Regions from separate parts of the Homo sapiens genome. Here all the other regions are linked to region 1. The links are contacts of gene promoters, found by promoter capture Hi-C in blood cells and fetal thymus (Javierre and others, 2016). All regions are on one chromosome and are shown on one strand. The core of a region is centred on a gene start or on the middle of the fragment in contact, and the rest is flanking DNA. Distances in the headings are between cores, read along the strand shown.

Region 1 (4,252 bases), core at 1,289-3,788:
ATAAATTGACTTTAATTATGGCCTTTTTGTTAGAATCCATTATAGTCTTCTCTTTTATCAACAAATGTTGGATAAAGTATGCATTCAGGGAGGCTGGGCATGGTGGCTCACACCTGTAATCCAAGGAGGCTGGGCATGGTGGTTCACACCTGTAATCCCAGCACTTTGGGAGGCCGAGGCAGGCGGATCATAAGGTCAGGAGTTCGAGACCAGCCTGGCCAACATGGTGAAACTCCGTCTCTACTAAAAATACAAAAATTAGCTGGGCATGGTGGCGGGCGCTTGTAATCCCAGCTACTTGGGAGGCTGAGGCAGGAGAACCAATTGTTTGAACCCGGGAGATGGAGGTTGCAGTGAGCCGAGATAGTGCCATTGCACTCTAGCCTGGGTAACAGGGCGAGATTCCGTCTCAAAAAAAAAAAAAAAAAGGGCATTCAAGGAATAGGAAGACAAAGTATAATGGAAAAGTAAATGAACAAAAAGGATTTAAAAAAACAAATCCCAACTGTCAGATTAGTGGACAGTGAACCAATGCTCTGAGTTTGTTCATCAATCTGTGGTAGAACTACAATTGTTTCCTAAAGAGTGGAAAGGCTTTGAATAAAAGTGGAGAGGTAGAGAGGGCTCTCCCAGGACAGGTTGATTGCTTCCGCAAAGGCAAAGGGTCTGTAAAGTGCTAGGCGAGTGGGAACAAGTGGGAATAGTTCTGTTTGACTACATTTGAGGGTTTGAGAAAGGAAAGGGAGGGTAGAAGGGATGGAAGTGGGAATCACATATGTTTAATGATGTCTTGTTCGGTGCCAAGGACAGTTTTAGACCCTGATAAGCGGAAAGCTTTGAATACTCAGGAGGTGAATTTGGGTCATTTCATCTCCTCTCTTAGCTGCTGTATGACCCTGTGCCATCCTATTTATGTTTCATTTTCCTATCTGCAAAAAGGGAGTAATTCTTGTTCCCTTGGGTTTTCTCCTAGTCATAAAAAATGAATGAGTTCGGCCACAGTACACAAACAAAAGGAAAATATGTAATATTTTGTAGGATAAATTCATAAAAGTTGTGGAGGATCTGGGCACTTTTATAAAGCAAGCACTGTAGAAAACTTTCAAAGGAAACATTTAAATTCACTAATGACAGCTATAGGGATCCTGATTTTTCCTTTAAATGGCAGGCACTTCAAAAAATTAAAATAGAATGTAGTTAGCTTTCAATTACTTAGGCCACTGACAATTCAATTTATGGATTATATAGTATTTTAATTTACTCATTTCACACGTCGTTATCAACTCTACATGAAGTTTAAAAGGACAAAGGATGCAAGTGGAATTGGTCAGTGTTCCGGGTTATTTCCAAGGGAGGCAGAGGGTGGGGGGTTTCCTTTGAGACAAGACTTGGGGTTGGCCAATAATTGCTGGTATTGCCTGCCTGGTAATAACAGGCTGATGAAAAGGTGACTACAACGTGAAAACTGGTTAAATCAAGCGCACCCTCCCACCCTCGTTTTAGATGAGGAATTTTCCGCCCTCACAGAAGGGGCTGAGGCAGCATCTGGCATCACAACACTAACATTTGCTTCGTGATTTCCTCTTTACCCGGCCCTTTGACACACATCCCTTCCCAGAAATCAGGATTCGCTGGTGCTTTTGCATTTCTAAAATGGGAATCCCGTGGCTGAGCTTTTAGCCGGCCGGAACGACTGAGGGCTGCATCCCTTTCCCGCAGGAGCGGGGCTCCCGCCTCCAGTTCTGTTCCAGGCCTGACTCCTCCACTCCCTCCGTGACTCATGTCCTGCGGATCCTTCGCCCCCGACGCGCCCCCCAACACACAAACCCCCAGAATCCGCCCCCAGCCTACAGCGCGACGTCAGCCCGCCCCAGCCGACTTGGAGGTCTCGGGTCTGAGTCACACAGAAAGACCACCCTCGTCGGCATCCCCACACACAGTCCGACACCCGGCGCGCCGGCCTCCCCGCCTGACACACTAACGCCCGTCGTCTCCGCGCAACTTGTTATGCTCCGGCTCGAGCCCTTGACCCAAAACCCTCAGCGAAACGGAGAGCCGCAGAGCCGGCCTCGGGCGGCCTTTGATGGCTTTGTTATTGTTTGGGTTTGAATCGATACGCCCCTCCCCATCCTTCCTCCCTCGCGGCCCTACACCCAGCTCCCGCCTCCCCTCACGCCCCGCGCCCCTCCCCCTCCATTTTGGCGCCTTTTCCTTCCCGCCACGTCGTGGCGGCGTAGAGACCATTCTGACCGCGAGAGCTGGGCGGGGCGGGGGCGGGGCGCGCCGAGTTATGCAGATCAATCGGCCTCTGGTTGGCTGGAGTAGCGCTGGCAGGGGCGGGGCCGGGGCGCGGCCACAGAGCGCGCGGGGCGGGGGCCGAGGGGAGTCGCCCAGTCCCGCCGCTTCCCCACCCCCTCTCCTCCCTCGGCCGGCCCGGCAGCCCTGCTCCCCGCCTTGGCCTCCCGGAGAGGCCCCGCCCCGTCCCCGCCCGCCGCGCCCTCCCCGCGCGCCCTCCCCGCCGGCGCGCTCCTCCCCTTTACTCCTGGCTGCGGGGCGAGCCGGGCGTCTGCTGCAGCGGCCGCGGTGGCTGAGGAGGCCCGAGAGGAGTCGGTGGCAGCGGCGGCGGCGGGACCGGCAGCAGCAGCAGCAGCAGCAGCAGCAGCAACCACTAGCCTCCTGCCCCGCGGCGCTGCCGCACGAGCCCCACGAGCCGCTCACCCCGCCGTTCTCAGCGCTGCCCGACCCCGCTGGCGCGCCCTCCCGCCGCCAGTCCCGGCAGCGCCCTCAGTTGTCCTCCGACTCGCCCTCGGCCTTCCGCGCCAGCCGCAGCCACAGCCGCAACGCCACCCGCAGCCACAGCCACAGCCACAGCCCCAGGCATAGCCTTCGGCACAGCCCCGGCTCCGGCTCCTGCGGCAGCTCCTCTGGGCACCGTCCCTGCGCCGACATCCTGGAGGTTGGGATGCTCTTGTCCAAAATCAACTCGCTTGCCCACCTGCGCGCCGCGCCCTGCAACGACCTGCACGCCACCAAGCTGGCGCCCGGTGAGAGCACCCCCCGCCTCCGGCCCGGGGATGCGGGGCGGCGGCGGGATCTCCTGGGTGGGGAGCTGGCGGCTCGCGGGCCGGCACTGAGTCCCCGTGCTTCCCCCTTTCCTAGGCAAGGAGAAGGAGCCCCTGGAGTCGCAGTACCAGGTGGGCCCGCTACTGGGCAGCGGCGGCTTCGGCTCGGTCTACTCAGGCATCCGCGTCTCCGACAACTTGCCGGTGAGTGGGCGCCCCGCGGTGGGGAGGGCGCGCCGGGCGGGGGGCGCACGGGCGTGCTTTAGCCCGGACGAGGGAACCTGACGGAGACCCTGGGCTTCCAGGTGGCCATCAAACACGTGGAGAAGGACCGGATTTCCGACTGGGGAGAGCTGGTGAGTGCCCTGCAGGAGCGACCCCCAGGATGAGTGGGTGGGGTGAGGGGCGCCCCCGACTCCCGCCCTAACGCGGCCCCCTCGCCCCTGCAGCCTAATGGCACTCGAGTGCCCATGGAAGTGGTCCTGCTGAAGAAGGTGAGCTCGGGTTTCTCCGGCGTCATTAGGCTCCTGGACTGGTTCGAGAGGCCCGACAGTTTCGTCCTGATCCTGGAGAGGCCCGAGCCGGTGCAAGATCTCTTCGACTTCATCACGGAAAGGGGAGCCCTGCAAGAGGAGCTGGCCCGCAGCTTCTTCTGGCAGGTGCTGGAGGCCGTGCGGCACTGCCACAACTGCGGGGTGCTCCACCGCGACATCAAGGACGAAAACATCCTTATCGACCTCAATCGCGGCGAGCTCAAGCTCATCGACTTCGGGTCGGGGGCGCTGCTCAAGGACACCGTCTACACGGACTTCGATGGTGAGCCAGGCCCGGGAGGGAGCTGCCCAGGTGACTCGGCCCGGCCCGGCCCAGTCCGGAGGCCTCGGCCAGTCTCCCGCGCCAGCCTTTTGTAAAGGTCATTGGGCCGCCTGGCTCGATGCTAGCCGGGGTGGGACGCAGGAGAGCCTCCCAGCGTAGTAAAGCCGGGGATTTTCAGCCAGCTGAACCTGTAATGTTTCTGGCATGATTTTATTCTTCAAGTGGAATTCAGTTAGTTCCAGGCTTTCCCGATGAATAAGAGGTTGTGGGCAACCGGCGGTAGCCCAGATTTTTCTAAAGTCTGACCCAGTTTCCCCGCCAGTAAAAGGATGGGGGCGGGGGAAGAGGTGGAAATTGATGCCGGTTTTGTAATT
Region 2 (4,252 bases), core at 1,055-3,554, 410 kb before region 1:
CGAGAAGCCACTAGGCCGGCGTGTCATCCCAGGAAGGTCACGGTTAAGCAGGGGCAGCGCCCGTAGCAGCTGCCAGCTCTGGAGTGAGATGTCATGTTGAGTCCCATCTCTACCACTTTCTAGCTGTGTGACCTTGGCTGAGTCACTTTCCTGCTTGCAGCCTTGGTTTCCTCTTTCATGACTAGGGGATGATAATATCTGCCTCTCAGGGCAACAACCTGTGAAAAGCACCAACGTGGGGAATTTCCCAGGGTAGGGGCCCAATAAATACGACTTCTCTTCCTCTTCCTTCCTGCAGGAAGTCCCGTGGATGTCTCTGCGATTCCTCATGCTAGATACAGCCAGCGCCTGTTGTGTGGTCTGCAAGTCAACTCTCTCCCCTGGCTGTTGCTCCATCTGCCCCACCCCTCCCCACCCCATCTCTCTTGGATGTCTGATTCCCACGCTCAGCCCCTGCACACACACAGACGCACGGGCCTCCCTGATACCAGACCTAGCTTGGGGCTCAGAATGTCTACACCCGGCTGCAGAGACCGGGGTGGCTACTCACTGTGCCAGAATTCACGTATTTCTTTTTCTTCATTTTCTTTTTCGGGTTTACCACCTGCAGGAAAAACCAGTTACCAGGTAAGGCATGCTTCCAGGCAGTCAGGGTGAGTCTTGAGGGCTTCCAACCACCCATGGGTGTGGTCCAAGCCCAGCCCCATTAGAGTGTGGGGTGTGAAGACCACGGGGCCAGGGGAGAAGGGTTTAAGGAGGATTTGTGGGAGACTGGTATTGAGTCTGGGTTACACAACTGGGTTCTCCCATCAGACCCAGGGTCCCACGATCAACCGGGAATATTTATTTAACCTTCTCTCCCACTGTTCCCCGGAACACACGCACCCTCCACCCAGTATAGCCAAAGAAGTCTTGATGTTGCAAAGCGGCCCTATCTGTACCTGTCCCTTGTGTTGGTTGAGGCTGCTCCCCTCACCAAAAATGCACCCCCTTCCTCTCTCAGCCAATTCCAATCTCCCCTGTTCCTCCTTTGGGACCCAGCCCAAGGGCTGCCCAGGGCCTCTGAGGCTCCCCTCTCCATCACCATCCCTCTTACTTGGCAGCAAGAACCTCTTTAGCTATTCTTTGAGTGTAAGCTTTAACTTCCAAACCAGACCTGTGTCAGATAAATCATGGGGCTAGGCTCAGAGTAGGTGCTCAGAGAAGGCTTGTTGGTGGCTAACTCAGCGGTCTCAACCAGGGGCGATTTTACCCCCAGGAACGTTTGGTAACATCTGGAGACGGTTTTGGTTTCCACAACTGAGGGGGTGAGTAGAGGCCAGGCATGCTGCTAAACATCCTACAGTACACAAGACAGCCTCCCACGGCAGGGAGTGATGCAGTCCCAAATCCCAGTAGTGCCAAGGCCAAGACTGGGCAAAGTGACGAGAGCCACCCAGCCCTGAGGCCCCCCACGAGACTTCCGCACTTACTGTATTTGTATTCTCATTTGACCCTCGCCAGTTTTTCTTTGTTTTGTTTTTAATAAGGGAAGTCTAGGCACAACTTTTCCCTAATGTCCCATCAAACAAAGCCAGGCAATTTTCATACCTCCTGTGCTGCCTGTTGGTTTCTGGTGAACTCATTTCCCCTTTCCCTGTCTTTGTTCCCACAGAGGCCGTCAGCTGATCTTTACCGTGGTCTCTTCTGTCTGGGTGAGTATTGCTATCTACTTCCAGCAAGAAGGAAACTAAAGCACAGCGACACCAGGTGATTTGCCTAAAGTCACACAGCCATCTGGGTAGTGACAGGATTAGAAACCAGGTTTCCTGCCCCCGGGCCAGTGGTGCATACATTGGTGCCACCTTGATAACAGATACAAACAGATCTCTTTGACATACATTTATGGGGTGGGTGGAGACATATATTGCTTCTCCCCTGGAATCATCTATCACCTATGTTGGAGAGAGAAGATATGTCCTCAGGGCAAAAAGTGACAAGGGCCATGGAACAAGGGGGATCACAGAAGTGTCAGGGGAGTTAGAGGAAGGAAAGACCACTCTAGGTGAGAGTGTCAGCAAAGCCTCTCTGGAGCAGGAAGTCTTGAAGGCAGACTTAGAGGCACAGGAAGGCTCTGGGCACGGAGAGATGGATGTCAGAGGAGGTTCTGTGGGAGAAATGAATAGAACCCAGGCCCAGTTTGATGGCAGAACCACAGGGTGGAAGAGTAAGCTGGGCTGGTTGGAGGAGAGCCTAGAATGCCCAGTGAAAAATGTCTGAATGTCACCCAGCGGCCTGCAGGGAACTCTGATGACCCCCAAGCTGGTAGGAGACAAAATCAGAGCAGGCTCTAGGACACTGGGGCCTGGTGGAGGTGAGTGTGAGGGGAGGAGGAGGCTCATCCAGGAAATATTTGCCTAGTTCTGCCACCTAATAATAGCTGTGTGACCTTAGGCAGGTTACTTAACCTCAATGTGCCTCAGTCTCCTCATCTCTAAAATGGGAATAAGAAGTACCTGCCTCCCGGAAAGGTATGAGGATTAAATGGGCCAATGCAAGCAAAGTGCCTAGAACAGTTTGGAATGTAGTAAGTATTATCTATACGTGTCTGTTGCTTTTTTCTAAGACGGGGTCTTGCTCTATGGCCCAGGCTGGAGTGCAGTGGTGGGGTCATAGCTCACTGTGGCCTCAACCTCCCGGGCTCAAGCAATCCTTCCAGGTAGCTGCCACCATGTCTGGCTATTTTTTTTTTTTTGGTAGAGATAGGATCTCGCTATGTTACTCTGGCTGGTCTCAAACTCTTGGGCTCAAGCAATCCTCCTGCCTCAGTCTCCCAGAGTGTTGGGATTACAGGCGTGAGCCACTGCACCCAGCCTTAGTTGCTATTTTTCAAAATTACTACTACTATTATTACTGCCACCATAAGTCCATGCGAGAGGTCATGAGGACTTGGGGGTATTGGGACAGGTGCTGAGCTATGGTGAGAACAGCGCTGTCAAGAAGTGACCACGCCTCTTGGGCCCTGGGCGTGGCTATAGAGGTTCGAGAGAGGGAGGGGTTGGGGTGACCAGGTAGACACAGAAGGAAGGCGCTGGATTTGGGGCACAGGTGGGAAGTTCACGTGGGAGGTCTGGCAAGCTGTGCAGGTAGAAACTGAGGGCCTGGGCGAGATGGTGAGAGAGCCCGGGAGAGAAGACCAGAGCACCCTCTTTAGCACTGGAGGACGCCCCCTCCACGGGGTTACCCAGATGGTGAGGTGCTCACGGACACATTCATGGGAAAACAGCTTAAGTAGGCAAGCTGTTAAGATGAGGGCAAAATGGCAGCCCCAGTGCTGCACTGTGCCTCAGTTTCCCAATCTCTCCCTTGAGGGTGTTGAACTATCGGAATGGACAGCATCTCAAACTTTTGCTCCAACATAGCCCTCCCAGCTGGGGAGAATGAACCCGGAGTCCTGAGAGTAACCAAAGATTTGGCCACAAGCATGTTTCTTCTAAGCTTTCTATGTTATCTTTAAATTAGCCTGTATTCCACATTTCCACTCTCTGATATAACTGCTTTAATGTTAAAGCAATGTTCTGTTCTCAGATCCCTGTTTACCCTGAGGTTTCATGCTCCCAGCCTCAGCCTCTCCAGCCCCGCCACGGTGAATCCCATGCAGGGGGCCAGCGCCACCTAGGGGCCAGCCGAGGAGCTGCCCCTCCACTAAGTCACCTCCCTTCTTCTTGGTGGTCAGGCGGGGACAGGACAGGTCTGGAATCTGCCCTCCTGCGCACATTAGGTGGGGTGGGTGGGGGCACTGAGGGGCTCCTAGGGGCCAGGAGCTGTGCTGGCTCTGGGGATGCAGCAGTAAGTGCAACACAACCCCCACCCTGAGGACTTCAAGGTCTTTGAGGGGTTGAATAGTGTCACAAAACAGAAAATAGCCAGAAGGAACCCCAGGAGCACTGACAAGTGTCCACTCCAGGCTCTGGGGTGGGGCGGGTGTGCAGGTGGACACAACTTCCTGGAGGAGGAACACCCACAGGGAGGCTCCGTGGACCAATAGCTCCTACCCAGGAGAAGACAAGAGGGAGTCTCAGGTGGAGGCACCCATATGAATCGAGCCCTGGAGGCTGAGACAGCACGGAGGTTCAGAGAGCCTCAGGTGGCAGGACGGGGATGAATGTGGGAATGGGCAGAGGGAAGGGGCAGGGGCCAGCTCCTAGGGGCCTCCAAAGGCATGTGATGTGTGTTTTTATTTACATGCACAGCCAGGCGTGGTGGCTCACAC
Region 3 (4,252 bases), core at 1,242-3,741, 330 kb before region 1:
AGGGCCTTCCTCAGCTCATGGATCATGTCCCCCAAAAGGGTATTGACCCAGGGTCAGCCCCAGAACCACATCCCCCAGGAAGGCCTCTTATGCAAGAGGTTTGAGTCCTTTGGACATCTTTACTTCCAGAAAGCAAACAGGAGGGGCCAGGTGCTACCGCCTTCCGGTGATCATTGTAGCTACTTATTGAGCACCTACTGTGTGCCAAGCAAGTGCAAAGTAGCTTGCTAGGTGCTTCATGCTCCTCCACTCCTGCAAGTTAATTCCTCCAACAGTATTTGGCAAGTGCCAGGCACTGCTCTAAGCACATGAGCTACCTTGGTGAACAAGGTTTCTCCATGAGTACATGCTGCTTATTGTTTGTACCTGACAGGTGGGGGAAACTGAGGCTTAAAATTTGCCCCAAGTGGTGAAGCAGAGATTCTGTTTCAAGGTATCTGACTCCAAAGCCACACTATCTGCCCTCCATCTCCTTTCCTCTCCACTGGAGTAGAGGGTGCATGGGTCTGACTCAGGGTGGGAATCCCTGCCCTCAAATGCTTACACAGTTGCTTTGAGAGGGGAGGGATGACGTCTGCACACCTGAGACGTCTCAAGAGGTTTCATCCTCAGTATGTGAGTGACCCTGTGGCCCAGGCTGAGTACCTAGGGCCCACGGGACACAGAAGACAATGATTTGAGCTGTGTGTCTCATGGGTGAGAGGATGCCTGAAAGTGGGGAGCGTGAGGCCAGGCTTTTCAGGAGTGGGGGGATCATGAACTTGGGGAGATAAAGGAAGAGTGAAATCTGGATGGGGAATGGGCTGTTCAGAGGCTTGGAGGTGGGAAGGATCCCAAGACAACTGAAGATGACAGGCATGATTGAAGGCTGGGAGGGAGTGCCAGGCGCAGGGATGTGCGTGCAGGAGAAGGGTGGGGAGGCCGTGCTGCTTTTGATGGCTGAGGAGGTGAGACTGGAGCTAATGGGCCATCAGGAATCTCCCAGCAGAGTAATGACAAGATGCAAATGGCGTTGGGAGATGATCCTGACGGCATGGTGTATGGGACCTGGGAGCTATCACAGGAGCCCCCAGAGGGCCTGGCTTAGGGGGGAAGCTACGTTCAACCAGACTAGCCTTCACTGCCACTTATCCCCAAGTCTTCAAGAGAAAGTCACACTGAGTCCTTCCCTCCTTCACGCCCCTGCCCAGACTCTCCAGCTCTACCTACACCTCATCAATGCCACAACTTTGTAATACAGGACTGGGGGGCAACAAGGTTACCTCTCATGGAGGGTCTGACCAAGGAGCAACCTGGAAGAGGATGAGATGGGTGATTTCGAACAAGGGCACAGCCAGGGCTCCAGAAATGCTGTCGGTGATCTGGGGCAGGGGGCATGGCCTCTGTGGGGGAACCTCAAAGTGGGTGATGCTTGCGTGGCAGCACATGATCCTAGGCCAGCCACAGAGAGACTGAACTAGGGAAAAATCCCCCTTTGCCACCCATACCCTCTTACTGCCAGGGGCAGCCTTCCCCTAGCTAGGAGAACCTGGGGTCGACCCAGCTCTTAGACAGAGAAGTTACCCCCAAACCCTGTGTGACATGAGTGAAGATTTGGGCGTGGTAGCCCACAAAAATATTCCCCCTCCTCCTCTGTTGGACTCTACAGTTTCACAATCAGTGTTCTATTCCTTTGGCTTAAGATTTTTGACCCAAGTTATTTTTTTAATGGTGCCACTTTAAGTTGTTATCATGTATCCACACCTTAGTATGAATGAGTCAATCTGATCCTTTTCCAGGAGTCGATTTCGTTGTTGATAGAGATGAAGGAAGGCTTTAAAATCCTAGAGTCTAGGACAGTGGGGTGGGGGAGACTGGTGAGGGGAGGATCAGGATGCTGGGGCAAAGAAGGGGCAAAGAGAGAAGAGAGGAGGGCACAGAAGGGAGAGGGTGGACGAGCCTGGGAGGGATGGGGGCAAATCACTCACTTCGTGATTTGGGGATGGGGTGATCAGAGATAGCCTGAGCAGAGACCGTAGTACAGCCTTTTACCAACTCCCTCTCCCCACTTGGGTGCCTGGACCCCCTGTTCCTGTGTCTTCATATCTCCTCGATGCAACAGCCTGGAGCGCAAACTTTCTGGGATATGACCCCAGCCTGGCTTCCTATTCTGCCGTCGCCACCCGCAGCTGGACAGGACAGGGGCTCTTGGCAGATCGGCAGGGGCGCAGTCCTGGAGACCAGGACACTCTGGGAAGGGGGCGCGCGGAGGTTTAGGATCGAAGCGGCAGGGGCCGCGGGGCTCTGCGTCCAGGGCCGGGGCAAGGGGACCCGGCCAGCGGGAGGCTCACCTGCAGGACACGGTGATCTCCACCTTGGTGGCCGGGATGCTGCCCGCCAAGGAGTCGAACTCGCTCAGCGACGCCATGTCCTCAGGCTGCTCCATCGCCCACCGCACCCCCCACCCCAAATTAGTCAATCCCTGCGCGATTCACGCCTCCTCCGGAGCGACTGGAGCCCTGGGCTCTCCCCCAACTCCAGAGCCTGGGCTGGGCGGCAAGGGGAGGAGAGAGGAGCGCGAAGAGGGGGCGTGGGAAGTGAGAGAGGGAAGAGGGCGGAGGGAGCGGGGGCCGCGGATCGAGGAGGGGGCTCGGGTGACGCCGCGAGGAGGCTAGGGGCCCAGTGGGGAAGGGCAAGGAGCCCAGGGAGCGGGGGCACAGCGGGGAAGGCAGAGAGGGGCGCGGGGAGAGGGGCTCGGGGAGAGGGCACCGGGAGGGAAACGCGGAGTCGTGGAGAGGGGCACCAGGAGAGGGACGCGCGTCTGTGGGCAGAGGTAGAGGGGATGCAGAAGACAGGGAGAGGGGCGTGAGGAGCGGGAGGCGCCGGATGGGGCGCTGGCGGCGGGGGTGGCGGGGCGCCGGCAGCGCGGAGCCCGAGCGCCCGGGCTGCGCCGCCTCTCCCTGGGTCTTGGCGCCGGCGGCGACGGGGCTGAGACGCGGCTGCGAGCGCCACCTCCTCGGCTCGGGCTTCGGCTCCGGGGCGCCCGGGCTGCGGGAAAATCAAATCTGCCCGAAGCCGCAGCCTCCCGCCGCCCGGGAACGCCAGAGGGGGCGCCCGCAGGGGCCGGGGCGGGGCCGCGGGCGGGGTCTGCGCGCAGGGTGAGTGTGAGCGTGTGTGTGTGCGCGTGTGTGTGTGTGTGCGCGCGTGGCGGGCCGGGGGACGCGGTCCAGATGCTGGGGACGTGGCGGGTGACAGCAAGAGGTGGTCCTGGTCGCGCGCATCTTCATTTGCGCCCGCCCCCTCTCACCACCCCTATCTCCCATCAGGGGTCTCCATCCTGGGGGAGGGGGAGGGTTATGGGAACCAACGGGCGCCTTTTTGAGAAAGGTCTATGCAGGGTTGAGAGGGGGCATAAGTGGGAGGGAGGTGTGCAAAAAAGATCCCCTCCCAGGGGCTTGGGTGTGGAGGGTCTCTGCTGAGTGTGCGCCCTACTCGGGGGCGGGTCTCAGTTCAGAAACAGACCCTACATCTCCTTCTGGGGAGGTGTGTGGGGGCGACCCCAGTGCCAGGAGGGACTACCTCGGTTTCCCAGTGGCCCAGGTGGGGTCGGTGCATGGGCGCCTCCCCCATCCGTGGTTCCCGCCAGCCGCGGCCTCGCCAAGTCGGCTGCCGAAACCACGCGCCAGCGCCCTTCCACTCCCCCGCCCGTCGTGACCACACGACTGAGCCAGCCTCCAGGTCTAGAAGCTCCTGCCACCCAGTCTGGTGGCAACCAGACTGGGAGATCGGCCCGAGCTCCCTGGGCTTCTATGCAGCCAGCACCGAGTAGGCGCGTGCTGTGTGCCTGGCGAGCGAGGGGAGAGTTGGGACACCTCTCCTGCAGTCCTCTTCCCAGCCAAGCCCCTCGCGATCCCCCGCCCTAGCCCAGCCTTGCCCTCCCGGGCATGAGGTTGCAGCGCAGAGGCGTCTCCCTGAGTAAGGCTGCACACGTAGACTTGACTCTAGCCCATCCTCAGCCTCAGCCTAAGCTTTGCCGAGCTGGAACCTCCACTTCCTCGCCCACCGCCTGGCACATCGAAGCCGATGTGCCTCGGGCCGGCGGGGAGGCCAAAAACCTGGTGCTGGGCTGGGCAGAGTTGCGCTCTCTGGGCCTTGTTTGTGGCAGCGGGACCATAAGGGGCTCCTCCGGATTCTGTTTGAAGTCAATTCCTGGAACATCAGATACTGTCAGTCAAAGATAAATACAAGAACACATTCCTCTGCCTGTTACAAT
Region 4 (4,252 bases), core at 821-3,320, 310 kb before region 1:
AATCATTCTAATTCAAACATTCCTCTGGGCACGTGGAATAAGTGAGAGGTGGCAGAGGGACAGAGAATGATTAAAGAGTTCTCCAGTGCAGAGCATGCTACTCAGATGTCAATTATCAGTTAGAAAGCCAACAATTTGGAAGCTTTGCAGGTTCTGTGCCTGGTCTAGCACAGACACAATGAAGATAGGCAGACCTGTTTTCTATTGTGTGTGTGTGTGTGTGTGTGTGTGTGTGTGTTTTGAGACAGAATCTCACTCTATCACCAGGCTGGAGTGCAGTGGTGCGATCTCGGCTCACTGCAACTTCTGCCTCCCGGGTTCAAGTGATTTTCCTGCCTCAGCCTCCTGAGTAGCTGGGACTACAGGCGCCCGCCACCATGCCCAGCTAATTTTTGTATTTTTAGTAGAGATGGGGTTTCACCATGTTGCCCAGGATGGTCTCAATCTTGACCTCATGATCTGCCAGGCTCGGCCTCCCAAAGTGCTGGGATTACAGGTGTGAGCCACCACACCCGGCCAAGACCTGTTTTCTAACCTTTGATTACAGGTTAGAAAAGAACCTTCAAGATTCTTTTCTGGCCAGGTACAAGTGGCTCACACCTATAATCCCAACACTTTGGGAGGCTGAAGGGGGCGGATCTCTTAAGCCCAGGAGTTGAGACCAGCCTAAGCAACATGGTGAAACTCGTCTCTACAAAAATTAGCCAGGCGTGGTTGTGCGTGCCTGCAGTCCCAGCTACAGCTACTCAGGTGGCTGAGGTGAGAGGATCACTCAAGCCCAGTAGGTCGAGGCTAGAGTGAGCTGTGATTGCGCCATTGCACTCCTGTCTGTCTCCAAAAAAAAAGAGATTCTTTTCCTCTTCTGTCCTCTGTCCTCTCTTGGGATCATTTATTCAATGTATTTATTTCAGACACGCAAACATACAAAGAATAATATGACCAATATCTATGACCACCTCCGCCCCCAAGAAATAAACTATTGCAAATCCAGCTAAGACCCCATGCATACACCCCACTGCATCTCTCCCCACCACTCATTCTCCTGAGAGCTAACAGCTGATTCAAAGAATCACATTTTCCTCTCAGGTAACCACTATTCTGACAAGAATTTGGCATTTCCATGCATTTTCTTTTTTACTACACATATATGTATCCCTAAAAAAAAAAAAAAAAAAGTATTGCTGTTTTGCATGTTTTTAAGCTTTTTTACTACACATCTATGTACCCCTAAAAAAAAAAAGTATTGTTGTTTTGCATGTTTTTAAGCTTACATAAGTGGTATTACACTTTATATATTCTCAACACTGTTTGAGAGACTCATCTACTTTGTTCCAGGCAGGTCTCTGTAGTGTTCACCTCACTGTATGACCATAATGCTCTGTCTTATCTTTTCTGGTGTTGATACTGAGGATCTTTCCAATGTTTTGGTTATTATCGACCATGCTATAAAAACTATTCTTATACTGTCTCCGAAATCCAAGTGCAAGAGCTCTCGGGGGCCAATACCTCACAGGGGATACACAGGGTCATAGTTTGAGTATTTCATCATTGCTAGATTTTTCTAAGTGCCTTATTGAAAAGGATGAACCAACATGCACCCCACCCCGCAGCACTCTCACTCTTACTGCTCTAGGTCCTTCTGTCAGTCTGAGAAGTGTGAGACCTCTTGTGGTGTTTTAAACTGCATTTCTCTGAAGTTTGGCATAATTTCATGTTTACTGGCTTATTTAGCTTGTCCCCTCTGTGAACGGCCACTCAGTGGTATGACATTTTGGAATTGATACATACAGTCATCCCTTGGTATACTCAGGGGATTGGTTCCAGGATCCCTGTGACACCAAAATCCCTGCTCGCTCAAGTCCCGCTGTGGGCTCTGAGAAAACTGTATGGACCTCCATGGTTCAAACCCATGTTGGTAAAGGCTCAACTATATACTATAGATACTAATCCTCTGTCAGTGAATGTTTTGCAAATACCTTCTCCCAGTTAACTTTTTTCACTCTTGTAATGGGATCTTCCAATGAACAGAACCTTTGCAGTTAACATTTCTTAACCTTCTTCTTTATGATCTGTGTTTTTTTTTTTTTTTAATTCCTTTTTTTTTTCTGAGACAGAGTTTCGCTCTTGTGGCCCAGGCTGGAGTGCAATGGTGCCATCTTGGCTCACCGCAACCTCCGCCTCCCAGGTTTAAGCAATTCTCCTGCCTCAGCCTCCCGAGTAGCTGGGATTACAGGCATGCGCCACCATGCCTGGCTAATTTTGTATTTTTAGTAGAGACGGGATTTCTCCATGTCGGTCAGGCTGGCCTCAAACTCCTGACCTCAGGTGATCTGCCTACCTCGGCTTCCCAAAGTGCTGGGATTACAGGTGTGAGCCACTGTGCCTGGCCTGTGTTGTTTCTTAAAAACAAAACACAAAAAACCCTTTTCTCATCCCTGTGACTCCTGTGATGTCCCTTCCTCCTCCTCTTAGTCACTGTGGAAACCTGTCAAAATGATGTCTAAGGCATGGGACATGCAGTGTCTTACACCAAGATGACCACACTTGGTGCTACTTGTCCCCGCCCCTCCCACCCCACAGTTGATGGGACAATAGATTAATATCCAGCCCCACAGATGGGCAGTGGCCTATAAGGAGAGCCAGTGGGGCACCTGACACCAGAGGGCAACTGACCAATCAAAGCCTCTCTTCTGGCAAGAGTGCCTCTAACAGACACTGTCCGTCAGTAGTCTCCTGAGCATCCCCAGCCTCCTCCTCCACAGCCTGCCTCAACCTCAGAGACAAAAAAGGCAGGTGCTGACAAGTCCATTTTGCAGACAGGCGTGGCCAGATGACCCAGTTGTGACTTACTGATACAAACAGAAGTCGCTGAGTCAAGCTTCTGAGAAAGCTACAGCTTTCCTGATAAAAACAGACATACTCTTTTGTCCTTCATCTACAGCTCTTTCCCATCTTCCTTCTTTGAAAGTAGGGTGATGCCAGAACAGCAGCAGCCATCTTGCAACCATAAGACTAACAAGTTCAAGACCAAAGGCCAACACATTACGAATGAAGTGGGGAAAGATATGGCAAGCCTAGATCCCTGACAACTCTTCTGGGCTGGTGAAGAGATGACAATAACTGCTCACTTCCAGACGTTCTGTTGTGTAAGAAAAAACAGCCCGTGGGATTAGGTTTTCTGTTACTTGTAGCCAAAAGCAGTGCTACCTGACACAAACACTTTGTTAATATACCAGACGGGAACAATGCCACAGTCCTCCAAGGGGCTTTGTGGTTCTGAAGATGCTGTCTTCTCTTTCTCACTTGCCTTTGGGGTCAGAGACGTCTGGATTCCAGTTCTGACCCCACCAATTACTGTTTAACCTTAATCAAGACACTTTCTCTCCAAGCCTCAGTTCCCCTGTCTGCAAAATGGGAGTAGCAGTAACACCTATGTCTCACAGGCTTGTTATGAGAATTAAATGAGACAGCATATGGAAGCTATCTGGTGTGTAACATGAGGCAAACACACAGTAGTGTCAGTGATGAAGAGCCCCTTTAACTGAGGTAACCCGAGCATTTTCTCTGAGAAGCTGCTGGTCATGATTCAAAGTGCCACCTCGGGAGGCAGCCTGCCTGGGTTTATTCAGTTCCTCTGTCCTCAAATTTCCACCACTCCCTCGCTGCTGCTCACTCTTTGAGGAGAACCTTGCTTCTTATTTCACTGAGAAGAAGGAATTATCAGAAGAGAACTTTCACATGCTCTCACCACCAAAGCCCCTTCCCTTCCTACACCTCTACCCACCTCCCTTCCCTAAGACACTGTGTGAATAAGCTGTCCATGACTATCCTACCACCACGTACCCAATCCCGCTCACCTTTAAAGAACTCAGCAACTACAACCTCCCCCTCTAGTAGACCAATTTTTCTCTTTCTAATGGATCATTCCTGTCAGCATTTAAACATGTTATTGATATTTCCTATTTTAAAAAGCAAAACTCTATTTCCAAGTATCCTCCTATTTCTCTACATCCCTTCACAGAAAAACTCCTTGAAAAAGCTGTCAACACCAAGTGTCTCTACTTCTCCCCATTCTTGCTTGAACATGCTCCATTCAGACTTTCGCCCCTCACCGCTCCGCTGAAACTGCTCTTGTCAAGGTCGCCAGTGACCTCCACGTGGTTATACCCAGTGGTCAATCCTCAGCACTCACTTTACTTGATCCACACTCGATGTCACCCTTCTGCTTGAGTTGCTGTCTTCCTTTGGCTTC
Region 5 (4,252 bases), core at 703-3,202, 280 kb before region 1:
CTGGGCTCAAGCTACCCCTCACCTCTGCTTCCCAAGTAGCTGGGACTACAGGCAGGCACCACCACACTCGGCCAATTTTTATTTTTATTTTTTTTGTAGATACAGGGTCTTGCTATGTTACCCAGGCTGGTCTTGGAAGTCCTGGGCTCAAGCAGTCCTCCCACCTCAGCCTCCCAGTGTTGGGATTACAGGCATGAACCACCATGCTTGACTTAGGACTTTATCTTAAAATGATTGTTATTAGGTATTTAATTTGTCTGGCTATTGGAACAAATGTGTTACATCATTTTATAATTCTCTGAAATAAAACATTGTGGGGTAGAAATAATTATCCCCATTTTATACATGAAAACTGAGGCTTAGAGAGGATGAGTAGTGTCTCATGGCCACACAGTAAGTGGTAAAATCTAGAATTTGCATCCAGCTTTTTCCAACTCCAGTATCTGTGTTCTTAGTCACCATGCTAAACTGCTCCTGCAGAGGATGGGGAGTCTTGGAAGGTGCTTAGCATGAGCCAATTTGTGTTTCAAAAAAATAAGTGGCCGAGTGCAGCGGCTCACGCTTGTAATCCTAGCACTTTGGGAGGCTAAGGTGGGTGGATCACTTGAGGTCAGGAGTTCAAGACCAGCCTGGCCAACATGGTGAAACCCATTTTTTACCAGAAAAATACAAAAATTAGCTGAGTGTGGTGGCGCGTGCCTGTACTCCCAGCTACTCCAGAGGCTGAGGCACGAGAATCTCTTGAAGCCAGGAGACAGAGGTTGCAGTGAGCTGAGATCATGTCACTGCACTCCAGCCTGAGCGAAGAGTGAGACCCTGTCTCAGAAAATAAAAATAAAAAACTGGACAAGGTAGAGAATGGATTGGGGAAGAGGAGAACTGGAAGTATAGAGATTAACTACATCTTTGTGATGGTCCATAGGAGAGATGTTGAAGACCTTAACTGTGCTGTTAATGTAGAGAGGAAGGGATGAATGTGAGAATTATATAGGAGGCTGAATCAAGAGGACTTAGTGATAGTTTCATTGGTGGGAGTGAGGTAGGAGGAGAATAGTTTTTAAATTTGGAGGATTAGTGTTTCCATTAAGAAAAGAGGTGCAGTGGGAGGAATGAGTTGAAGGGGAAAACAGTAAGTTGGGTTATAGACACATTACATACAGGGAGCTATGGGAAACTTGGATCACCGTGTCTGGTAGGCAGGTAGATAAATGGGTCTTGAACCCTAGAGAGAGTTGTAGACTGGAGAAGAGATTTGGGAATCACCAATAGCTGGTGGTCAAAGTGTTGGAGGGAATAAGAAGGTCAAGGATAACTGGTGGATACCAGCAGAGAACGAGAGAATTATGTTAAGGTTTGAGTACACTTGAGGGAGATAGATAATGGGGTAGCAACAGCAGCTGCTGCAGAGAGGTCAGATAAGGTAATAACTGAAAAAAACGTCCTTCGAACTTGGCGTTTAGAAAGCCATTTGTGGCCTCAGTGAAAGCAATGTCGGTGGAGTGAGGAGGCAGAAATATGATTTCAACAGGTTAATAAATGAATGGAAACCTGAGAAACAAGAAAGTGTGTTACTTTCTCCCCCCAACCCCCAAAGGAGCTTTCCTCTGAAGGGAGGGAGGGAGAGAGTACCAGAAACTTAGAAAGGAACTATTATGGCATTTTTCTGATAGTAGAAACTGGAAAGGGTGAGGATGGAAGCAAGTAGAGGTAAGCTTAAAAATGTGAAGACTTCTTCAAGTATGTCAATGTCCTAAAAGACCAAAAAACAAAAACAAAAAAAAAAAGAAAAACCACACACTGGGGACTTGTTCTGAAGTTAAGTAGATTAAAGAGAGGCATGGCAGCCAAATTCAATGTGTGGTCATTGGTTGGATCCTGGATTTTTAAATAGCTATATGATCTTTTTAAAAAAATTTGATAGTTAAGGAAACTTGACTATAGACTGAATATTAGGTAATATTAAGAGATTACTCATTTTAATGGGTATGGCAATAATGCCAATGGTTGTGTGTAGAATAACGTCGTTATTCTTAGGAGATGCATGTTGAAATATTTAGAAATGATTTTATAATGTGTTGCAAATAACTTTCAAGTAGTTCTGGTAAAAACAGAAAGAAAATATAGCCAAATGTAAACAACTGGTAAATCTAAATGAAGGATATCCAGGTGTTCATTGTACTATTTTTGTACAAAAAGCTTTACACATTTAATGTGTACAGCTTGATGAATTTGGACATAAGTATGCCCTTGTGAAACCATCACCATGATCCATGCCATCAACCTATCCATCACCTTCAAGTTTCCTCCTGCCTTCTTACTTATTATTACTATTAGCAATAAGAACACTTAACATAAGACCTACCTTCTTAGCATATTTTTAAATATACAATACAGTATTGTTAACTCTGGGCACTGTGCTGTATAGTAGGTCTCTAGGAGTTATTCATCTTGTATAACTGAAACTTTGTATTCTTTGCCCAGTACCTCCCTGTTTCCCCCTGCCTGCAGCCTCCTGCAACCACCATTCTGTTCTTTGCTTCTATGAGTTTAGCTATTTTAGATTAATCGCACAAGTGGTATCATGTAGTATTTATCTTTCTGTGTCTGGCTTATTTCACTTAGCATAATGTCCTCCAGGTCCATCCGTATTGTTACAAATAGCAGGATTTCTTTCTTTTTTAAGGCTGAATAATATTCCATTGTATGTATATACTACATTTAAAAAAAAAATTTTATTCTTTTGACACAGAGTCTCAGTCTGTTGCTCAGGCTGGGGTGCCATGATGTGATCTCTGCTCACTGCAACCTCCACCTCCCAGGTTCAAGTGATTCTCATGCCTCAGCCTCCCGAGTAGCTGGGATTATAGGCATGCGTCACCATGCCTGGCTAATTTTTGTATTTTTAGTAGAGACAGGGTTTTGCTATGTTATGTTGGCCAGGCTGATCTCCAGCTCCTGGCCCCAAGTGATCCACCCGCCTCAACCTCCCAAAGTTTTGGGATTACAAGTGTGAGCCACTGTGCCCTGCCTGTACCTTGATTGTAAATTTTAAGCATTTATTGTAGTTTTAAGTTATTACTCTTTTAAATCGTATTAATCATTTCAATGTTTTATCAGTTATTTTTCCTTTTAATTGATGTTTGTTTCTTTGTAGTGGTTCTTATTATAATCTAAGAAGCACTTTTTCTTTTTATTATTATTATACTTTAAGTTTTAGGGTACATGTGCACAACGTGTAGGTTTGTTACATATGTATATGTGTGCCATGTTGGTGTGCTGCACCTATTAACTCGTCATTTACATTAGGTATATCTCCTAATGCTATCCCTCCCCACTCCCCTACCCCACTACAGGCCCCAGTGTGTGATGTTGCCCTTCCTGTGTCCAAGTGTTCTCATTATTCAATTCCCACCTATGAGTGAGAACATACGGTGTTTGGTTTTCTGTCCTTGCGATAGTTTGCTCAAAATGATGGTTTCCAGCTTCATCCATGTCCCTATAAAGGACATGAACTCATCCTTTTTTGTGGCTGCATAGTATTCCATGGTGTATATGTGCCACATTTTCTTAATCCAGTCTATCATTGATGGACATTTGGGTTGGTTCCAAGTCTTTGCTATTTGTGAATAGTGCCACAATAAACATATGTGTGCATGTGTCTTTATAGCAGCATGATTTATAATCCTTTGGGTATATACCCAGTAATGGGATGGCTGGGTCAAATGGTATTTCTAGTTCTAGATCCTTGAGGAATCACCACACTGTCTTCCACAATGGTTGAAGGAGCACTTTTTCTTTACTAGAACATATATTTAATTAATGGGATCACTGGATAAAATAGAATGGAATATATTCATAACACTAAAGAATGGATACCATACTTCATGGGTAGTGTAATATTAAAGAGCCAAGTAGAGAAAAAAGAAAATTTAATTTACTCTGGATATAGCTCCTAGTGTTGAAGATTGGGATGTATCTTGATGGACTTTTGAAACTTTCTTTTGAACTGTACTGTTTCCCCTTTTGTGCTTTAACTAGATGAATCAGTTTTCTATCCTAGAGTTACCTCGCTGGCATAGCTCTTCAGAAAACAGAACGTCCAGGGTAATGGCATATCAGTGTTCAGGACTTACTTATCTCTATAGAGGAATTAGTTCTCTGTTAAACAGGGCAAAAGAGAAGTTTACATTTCTCTTAACTTCTTTTCTGCTTTAAAGAAACATTTGTATTGGTAAGTTCTATCAGAGTTTTT
Region 6 (4,252 bases), core at 497-2,996, 260 kb before region 1:
GCATTATCTTCTTCCCCAGTCCTATAAAGTAAATCTCCATACACGGTTGAACTGAGAAATGGGGCATCGTCAATGAACACTGCTCGCTTCTTCTCTAAATCATAGTTTAAACATTCCAGAAACATTAGTGTCTTGTAAACAAGCTGGATTATTTGGACTACTTCAAATCAATATTTTGCCTTGCAGATGGAAATAAAATGAGTCCTTGGAGCTCAGTTGTAGAGAGAGCGAGTGAGCATTGGAAGGGTGTGGCTTTAGCTCTTTAATGTTGTTGATTCTATTAAAGTGCTGTTTTTACTTGTAAATGTGGATGTGGAAGCACCATATTTTCCTATGTATGATAATTCTGGGAAGCTGTAGACATGTGAAACTAACAGCATTTTGCGTAGCATTTGGAAGAAAAGTTAAAAACACGTAATTATATGAAGAGTAAACAGAAACACATGAGGGAGAATTAAGTGCAACTTAATCTGGGCCTGTAAGAGGGCAGGAAAAGTAAAAATATATCATTTTTTAATGTCCTGGTATCAAAAAACAACTACCTTCAGGTTAGGATTAGTTGGCCATACATTTAAAGTAAATGCAAGGGGAGAATGGTGTGACAGATTCCCGAAAGGAAACCCCATATGGTTTCCTGAAGTGCTGGCCTGTCTCACACTCCCAGGGTCATCTGGTGCTCCTTGCAGTGGCACCTCGGGAATGATGGAGGGCAGCTGCAGCCTTGGTGATGTACAAGAGGCACCACCACCAATGACTGGAAGTTTCCCCTGACCCCACCCAGGGAACAAAAAGGTGACAGAGGTGGGGTTCTTTTTCTAGATTTCAGCCTTAGATAGGAAATCCTGCCCCTAAATGCTCTCAATAAGAAGAATGAAGTGACTTTGCAGCGAGTCATGGAAACATCCCGCTCTGCAGCAAAAAATAAGTAAATAAACTGACAGTTGTTTATTACTTACCAGATGCCAGACCCTGTTCAGGGGGCTTTCCATATATCGGCTTATTTAATCTTGACAACATCCCTATAGGGTAGCTTCAGGTTTTATGCCCATTTTACAGATGAGGACACTGAGGCACAGTATGGTTAGGTCACTTGCTCAAGGTCCCAGGTCTGGTCACGGAGCCATGATTTGAACCCAGGCAGCCAGTCTTCAGAGTCTGAGCCCTTCGCCTCTGATGTGAGTAGTCTGTAGCTGTGCAGTAGACCTGAAGAGTCTAGCTTTAAGTCTGATGTTGGAGTTCTACCACTGTCTCTCTCGGATCATCAGTTACTTTCTCTTAACTCCCTAGTCCCTGAAGAGACAATATTCTTTCTGGCTGTTCCAAAGATAAGTGGTCTTCCAAGCTTCTGACCCTTTAGAATTTTCCCGACCTGGTGTTGTCTTAGACATTCAGCCCAGTTCATCCTCCCTAGTCTGCACCCTGACATTCAGCCCAGTTCATCCTCCCTAGTCTGCACCCTTATGGATAATATTTGACTGACTTAATCCTTCCTCTTACTGACCCAGAGTTTTCTCTTTACATTCACATTCTTACTGCTTTTCTCCCCTCCTGGCTTCATATCTTTATAGTCACTTTACTCCTGCCGGCCATCCCCTTGGTTTTTACCATTTCCATGGAATCATTGAGTCTTAAAGCCAGAAAAGAATTTTAGAGTTAATCTAGTACATACCCCATTTTATAAAAGAGGTAACTGAGGCCAGGAGAGGTAAAGGAGCTTGCTTACCCAGCTAAAAGTGGCAAAATCACACTTGAACCCTAGTTTCTTAACTCCCTCTAGCATTCTGTCCAAGATATCACACTTACAGCCTGCCATCTCTGCCCTCAGTCAAGCCAGGCGCTAGCATGTTCAGCCAATTATTTTTTTTACTTTGGTCATTTTCTGGCCAACTTAAAAATAACATATTCATTTCTACTGAGGAAGCCTGGGATAGTTCTCACATACAGTGAAAAGGCACACATTTGGAACTCGATGCATCCCGTAACCTTCAAAGGAAGGATGAAGTAGATCCAGCAACATCAAGAAGTTTTGGAAATAGCAAATCATTTATTGGCCTCAAACTAAGAATCTAGTAAGACTTAGAGAGTCCAGATCTGTGCTCAAAGATGAACTGCTTAGACCGCAAGGAAAACCTTCCTCTTTTATTTGCAAAATAAGCTTACCTTCTGTGATAATAACAGCTCTGTCAAGCACTTACTGTATACCAGGTACTGTGCCGTGCAGTTTATTTCTCAGTCTTCACAGCAGTCACATAAGGTAGATACTGTTTTTATGTTCATTTCAAAGATGAGGAAACTGATGTGCAAGGGGATTGACTGACTTATCTGAAGTCTCACATTTATTTATTTTTAATTTTTTCTTTTGCTGTGTTTTTGATAATAAATTTTCACATTTAGAAACAAATTTTTGTACAAGTGAGAACTCATGAAAATAGACTTTCTCTGTGGTTTGGAGTGGTTCAAATGCATTGCTTCCTGGAGGCAAGGCTGTTGGTGAAATGATTTCTTGGGCTCTTTCCCTCTACGGTGTGTGAAAATGGCTCTGGGCATGGTGCCACACATGCAGGGACCTGGCAGAAGCCTCCTTCATTGTCAAGGCTTCACCCCTGCCTCATGCCCGGGGTACTAGAAGAGGTGCTATGCACAAACAAGCTTCTGGAGAGCAGCCTGATTAAATATTGAGCACACACTAGTGAAAGTCATGGGAACTTTGTCATGGGCTTTGCAGGGTTTTCTTGGCTATATTTATAATGCAAGAAATGATGAAGTTATATTTATTTAATCTTTATTTTGAGGTTTCTGTGAATCCAGATTGCTCATTTGATTTTTCTCCCCATGGACTTAATTCTATTGTTAAAGCTTCTGAAAAATCAGCCTTCCTGCCTGCCTTCCTGCCTTCCTCCCTCCTTCTTTTCCTCCTTCCATCCCTTCCTCCCTCTCCCCAACTTCATTCACTCATTCAGTAAATGTTTATTGAGACCCTGCTATATATGCCAGGCACTGTTCTCAACAAAGCAGTGAACAAAACAGACAAAACCACTGCTCTTGTAGAGCTAGTATTGGCTTTGTTCTTTTCTTTCTTCCCTATCCTTTTTATCCAGAGGGAGTTTTTTGTCCTGGAAAGAAATCTTTTGTTTTGTTTTGTTTTGTTTTGTTTTGTTTTGTTTTTGCCAGGTAAATAATCTATGTAACAGTACTCTCCCCACTCAGAATTCCAGGATATGTTATGGTTGTCTACAGAGAACCAGCCTAAGTGAGTTTTCTTGTAAATAACTCTCAGGCACCAGGAAGCTCCCTGATGGGTGAGACGCTGGCCCATCCATTTTTCTGCCCAGTGCCCAACTTGTAAAGAAGGGTGGATAGTTATGGTCTCTGCACGTTGACTTCAAGGCTGTGTTTTGTCTGAGAGACTGTTTTTGACATCTCCAACAGTGAAATCATTCCAAATCATAGTGAAAACTTGAAATACAAGTTATAAGCTTTATTGAACTTTTATATGTAGGATTTCTCTTCTCTGTCATACCTTTAAAAAATGTTTAAAATATCTGGTATGAGGGATATCTGGAGTAAAGAAGCCTTAGAAATTAAAAGTAGGAAGTTGCTATATAATTTACGCTGACTTTTCTGTCTGGTGCTTCAGGAAAAGTGGTTAGAAACAGGAGGGCTGGAAAGAAGTGAGATGCAGCATATTAGGTAGTCAAAAGCCGTAAACTAGGGTGGCATGGGCTCGGCTGGCTGTGTGCTGTTGGCTGTTTCCCAGGATGGAATTTTGTTCACTTTGTGGCATGATGGCTCCAGCCAGTTGTATAGAGAACACGTCAGACAAAACCTTTTCAGATGGACAGAGGCCAAGCTGGAGTCTGGCCACATCTCTTTCTGTTGTCAGGGACTCTGTGGGGAGAGGAAGAGGAGCCTGCACCCTACCTCCACCCCTAGTTCACCGTTTGCCCGTTCCTCTCTCTAAGCTTATGCTTTATCCACCTTGGTGATCTCAGGCTACAGAGAAATCAAAAGTAGTTCTTTCTTTTAAAGTTTGGGCTCCCTTAGTTCAGGTGGATGGCATAGGCTACCCCATTCCAGTGATCCTTTTTTCTTGTTACTTCCCTTCCTTCTTTGCGGGCCACCAGCCTGGCCACCTCTGCTCCTGTCAGATACCTCTCTGGGGCCAGCCTTCTGAGATGATTTACCTCTACACTTCAGCATTGAATTCTCAGCTTCAGTTTTCATGATCTCCAAGGACATTTTGACTTGGAAA

Evidence for each region. Contacts are between HindIII fragments. The CHiCAGO score rates a contact against its expected background, and 5 or more counts as called.
Region 2: a contact is called between a fragment that was not itself captured here and the fragment with the promoter of PIM1 in region 1, in 3 of 17 cell types (activated CD4 T cells, total B cells and M0 macrophages). The highest score is 6.3, in activated CD4 T cells.
Region 3: the fragment with the promoter of CPNE5 here is called in contact with the fragment with the promoter of PIM1 in region 1 in 6 of 17 cell types (fetal thymus, monocytes, endothelial precursors and 3 more); the score reaches 15.2 in fetal thymus.
Region 4: a contact is called between a fragment that was not itself captured here and the fragment with the promoter of PIM1 in region 1, in 2 of 17 cell types (erythroblasts and total CD8 T cells). The highest score is 7.3, in erythroblasts.
Region 5: a fragment that was not itself captured here is called in contact with the fragment with the promoter of PIM1 in region 1 in 6 of 17 cell types (naive CD4 T cells, total CD8 T cells, fetal thymus and 3 more); the score reaches 7.8 in naive CD4 T cells.
Region 6: a fragment that was not itself captured here is called in contact with the fragment with the promoter of PIM1 in region 1 in 1 of 17 cell types (endothelial precursors); the score reaches 5.4 in endothelial precursors.

Annotation. Positions count from the first base shown.
Region 1 is chr6:37,167,614-37,171,865 of GRCh38, forward strand. It overlaps PIM1 (Pim-1 proto-oncogene, serine/threonine kinase), which reads left to right and starts at 2,539. Exons shown (of 6, transcript NM_002648.4): 1 at 2,539-3,044; 2 at 3,160-3,266; 3 at 3,368-3,418; 4 at 3,512-3,878. The coding sequence starts at 2,963. RefSeq lists an enhancer at 1,784-2,382 and silencers at 2,008-2,787, 3,048-3,367. The HindIII fragment of the contact is 5,698 bases long and covers 833-4,252 here.
Region 2 is chr6:36,755,695-36,759,946 of GRCh38, forward strand. CPNE5 (copine 5) reads right to left here. Exons shown (of 21, transcript NM_020939.2): 13 at 551-604. Among named protein-coding and RNA genes, the nearest start is that of RAB44, 60 kb to the left of the region's middle. RefSeq lists enhancers at 1-867, 3,553-3,742, 3,578-4,252. The HindIII fragment of the contact is 2,341 bases long and covers 1,135-3,475 here.
Region 3 is chr6:36,836,953-36,841,204 of GRCh38, forward strand. It overlaps CPNE5 (copine 5), which reads right to left and starts at 2,492. Exons shown (of 21, transcript NM_020939.2): 1 at 2,331-2,492. The coding sequence starts at 2,425. RefSeq lists a silencer at 2,956-3,165 and an enhancer at 3,850-4,252. The HindIII fragment of the contact is 11,867 bases long and covers 1-4,005 here.
Region 4 is chr6:36,859,607-36,863,858 of GRCh38, forward strand. All of the region lies in intron 2 of PPIL1 (peptidylprolyl isomerase like 1), which reads right to left. Among named protein-coding and RNA genes, the nearest start is that of PPIL1, 13 kb to the right of the region's middle. RefSeq lists an enhancer at 223-724. The HindIII fragment of the contact is 1,612 bases long and covers 1,265-2,876 here.
Region 5 is chr6:36,887,810-36,892,061 of GRCh38, forward strand. The region is part of intron 1 of C6orf89 (chromosome 6 open reading frame 89); the gene reads left to right. Among named protein-coding and RNA genes, the nearest start is that of C6orf89, 4.0 kb to the left of the region's middle. The HindIII fragment of the contact is 484 bases long and covers 1,711-2,194 here.
Region 6 is chr6:36,904,150-36,908,401 of GRCh38, forward strand. The region is part of intron 4 of C6orf89 (chromosome 6 open reading frame 89); the gene reads left to right. Among named protein-coding and RNA genes, the nearest start is that of C6orf89, 20 kb to the left of the region's middle. The HindIII fragment of the contact is 813 bases long and covers 1,341-2,153 here.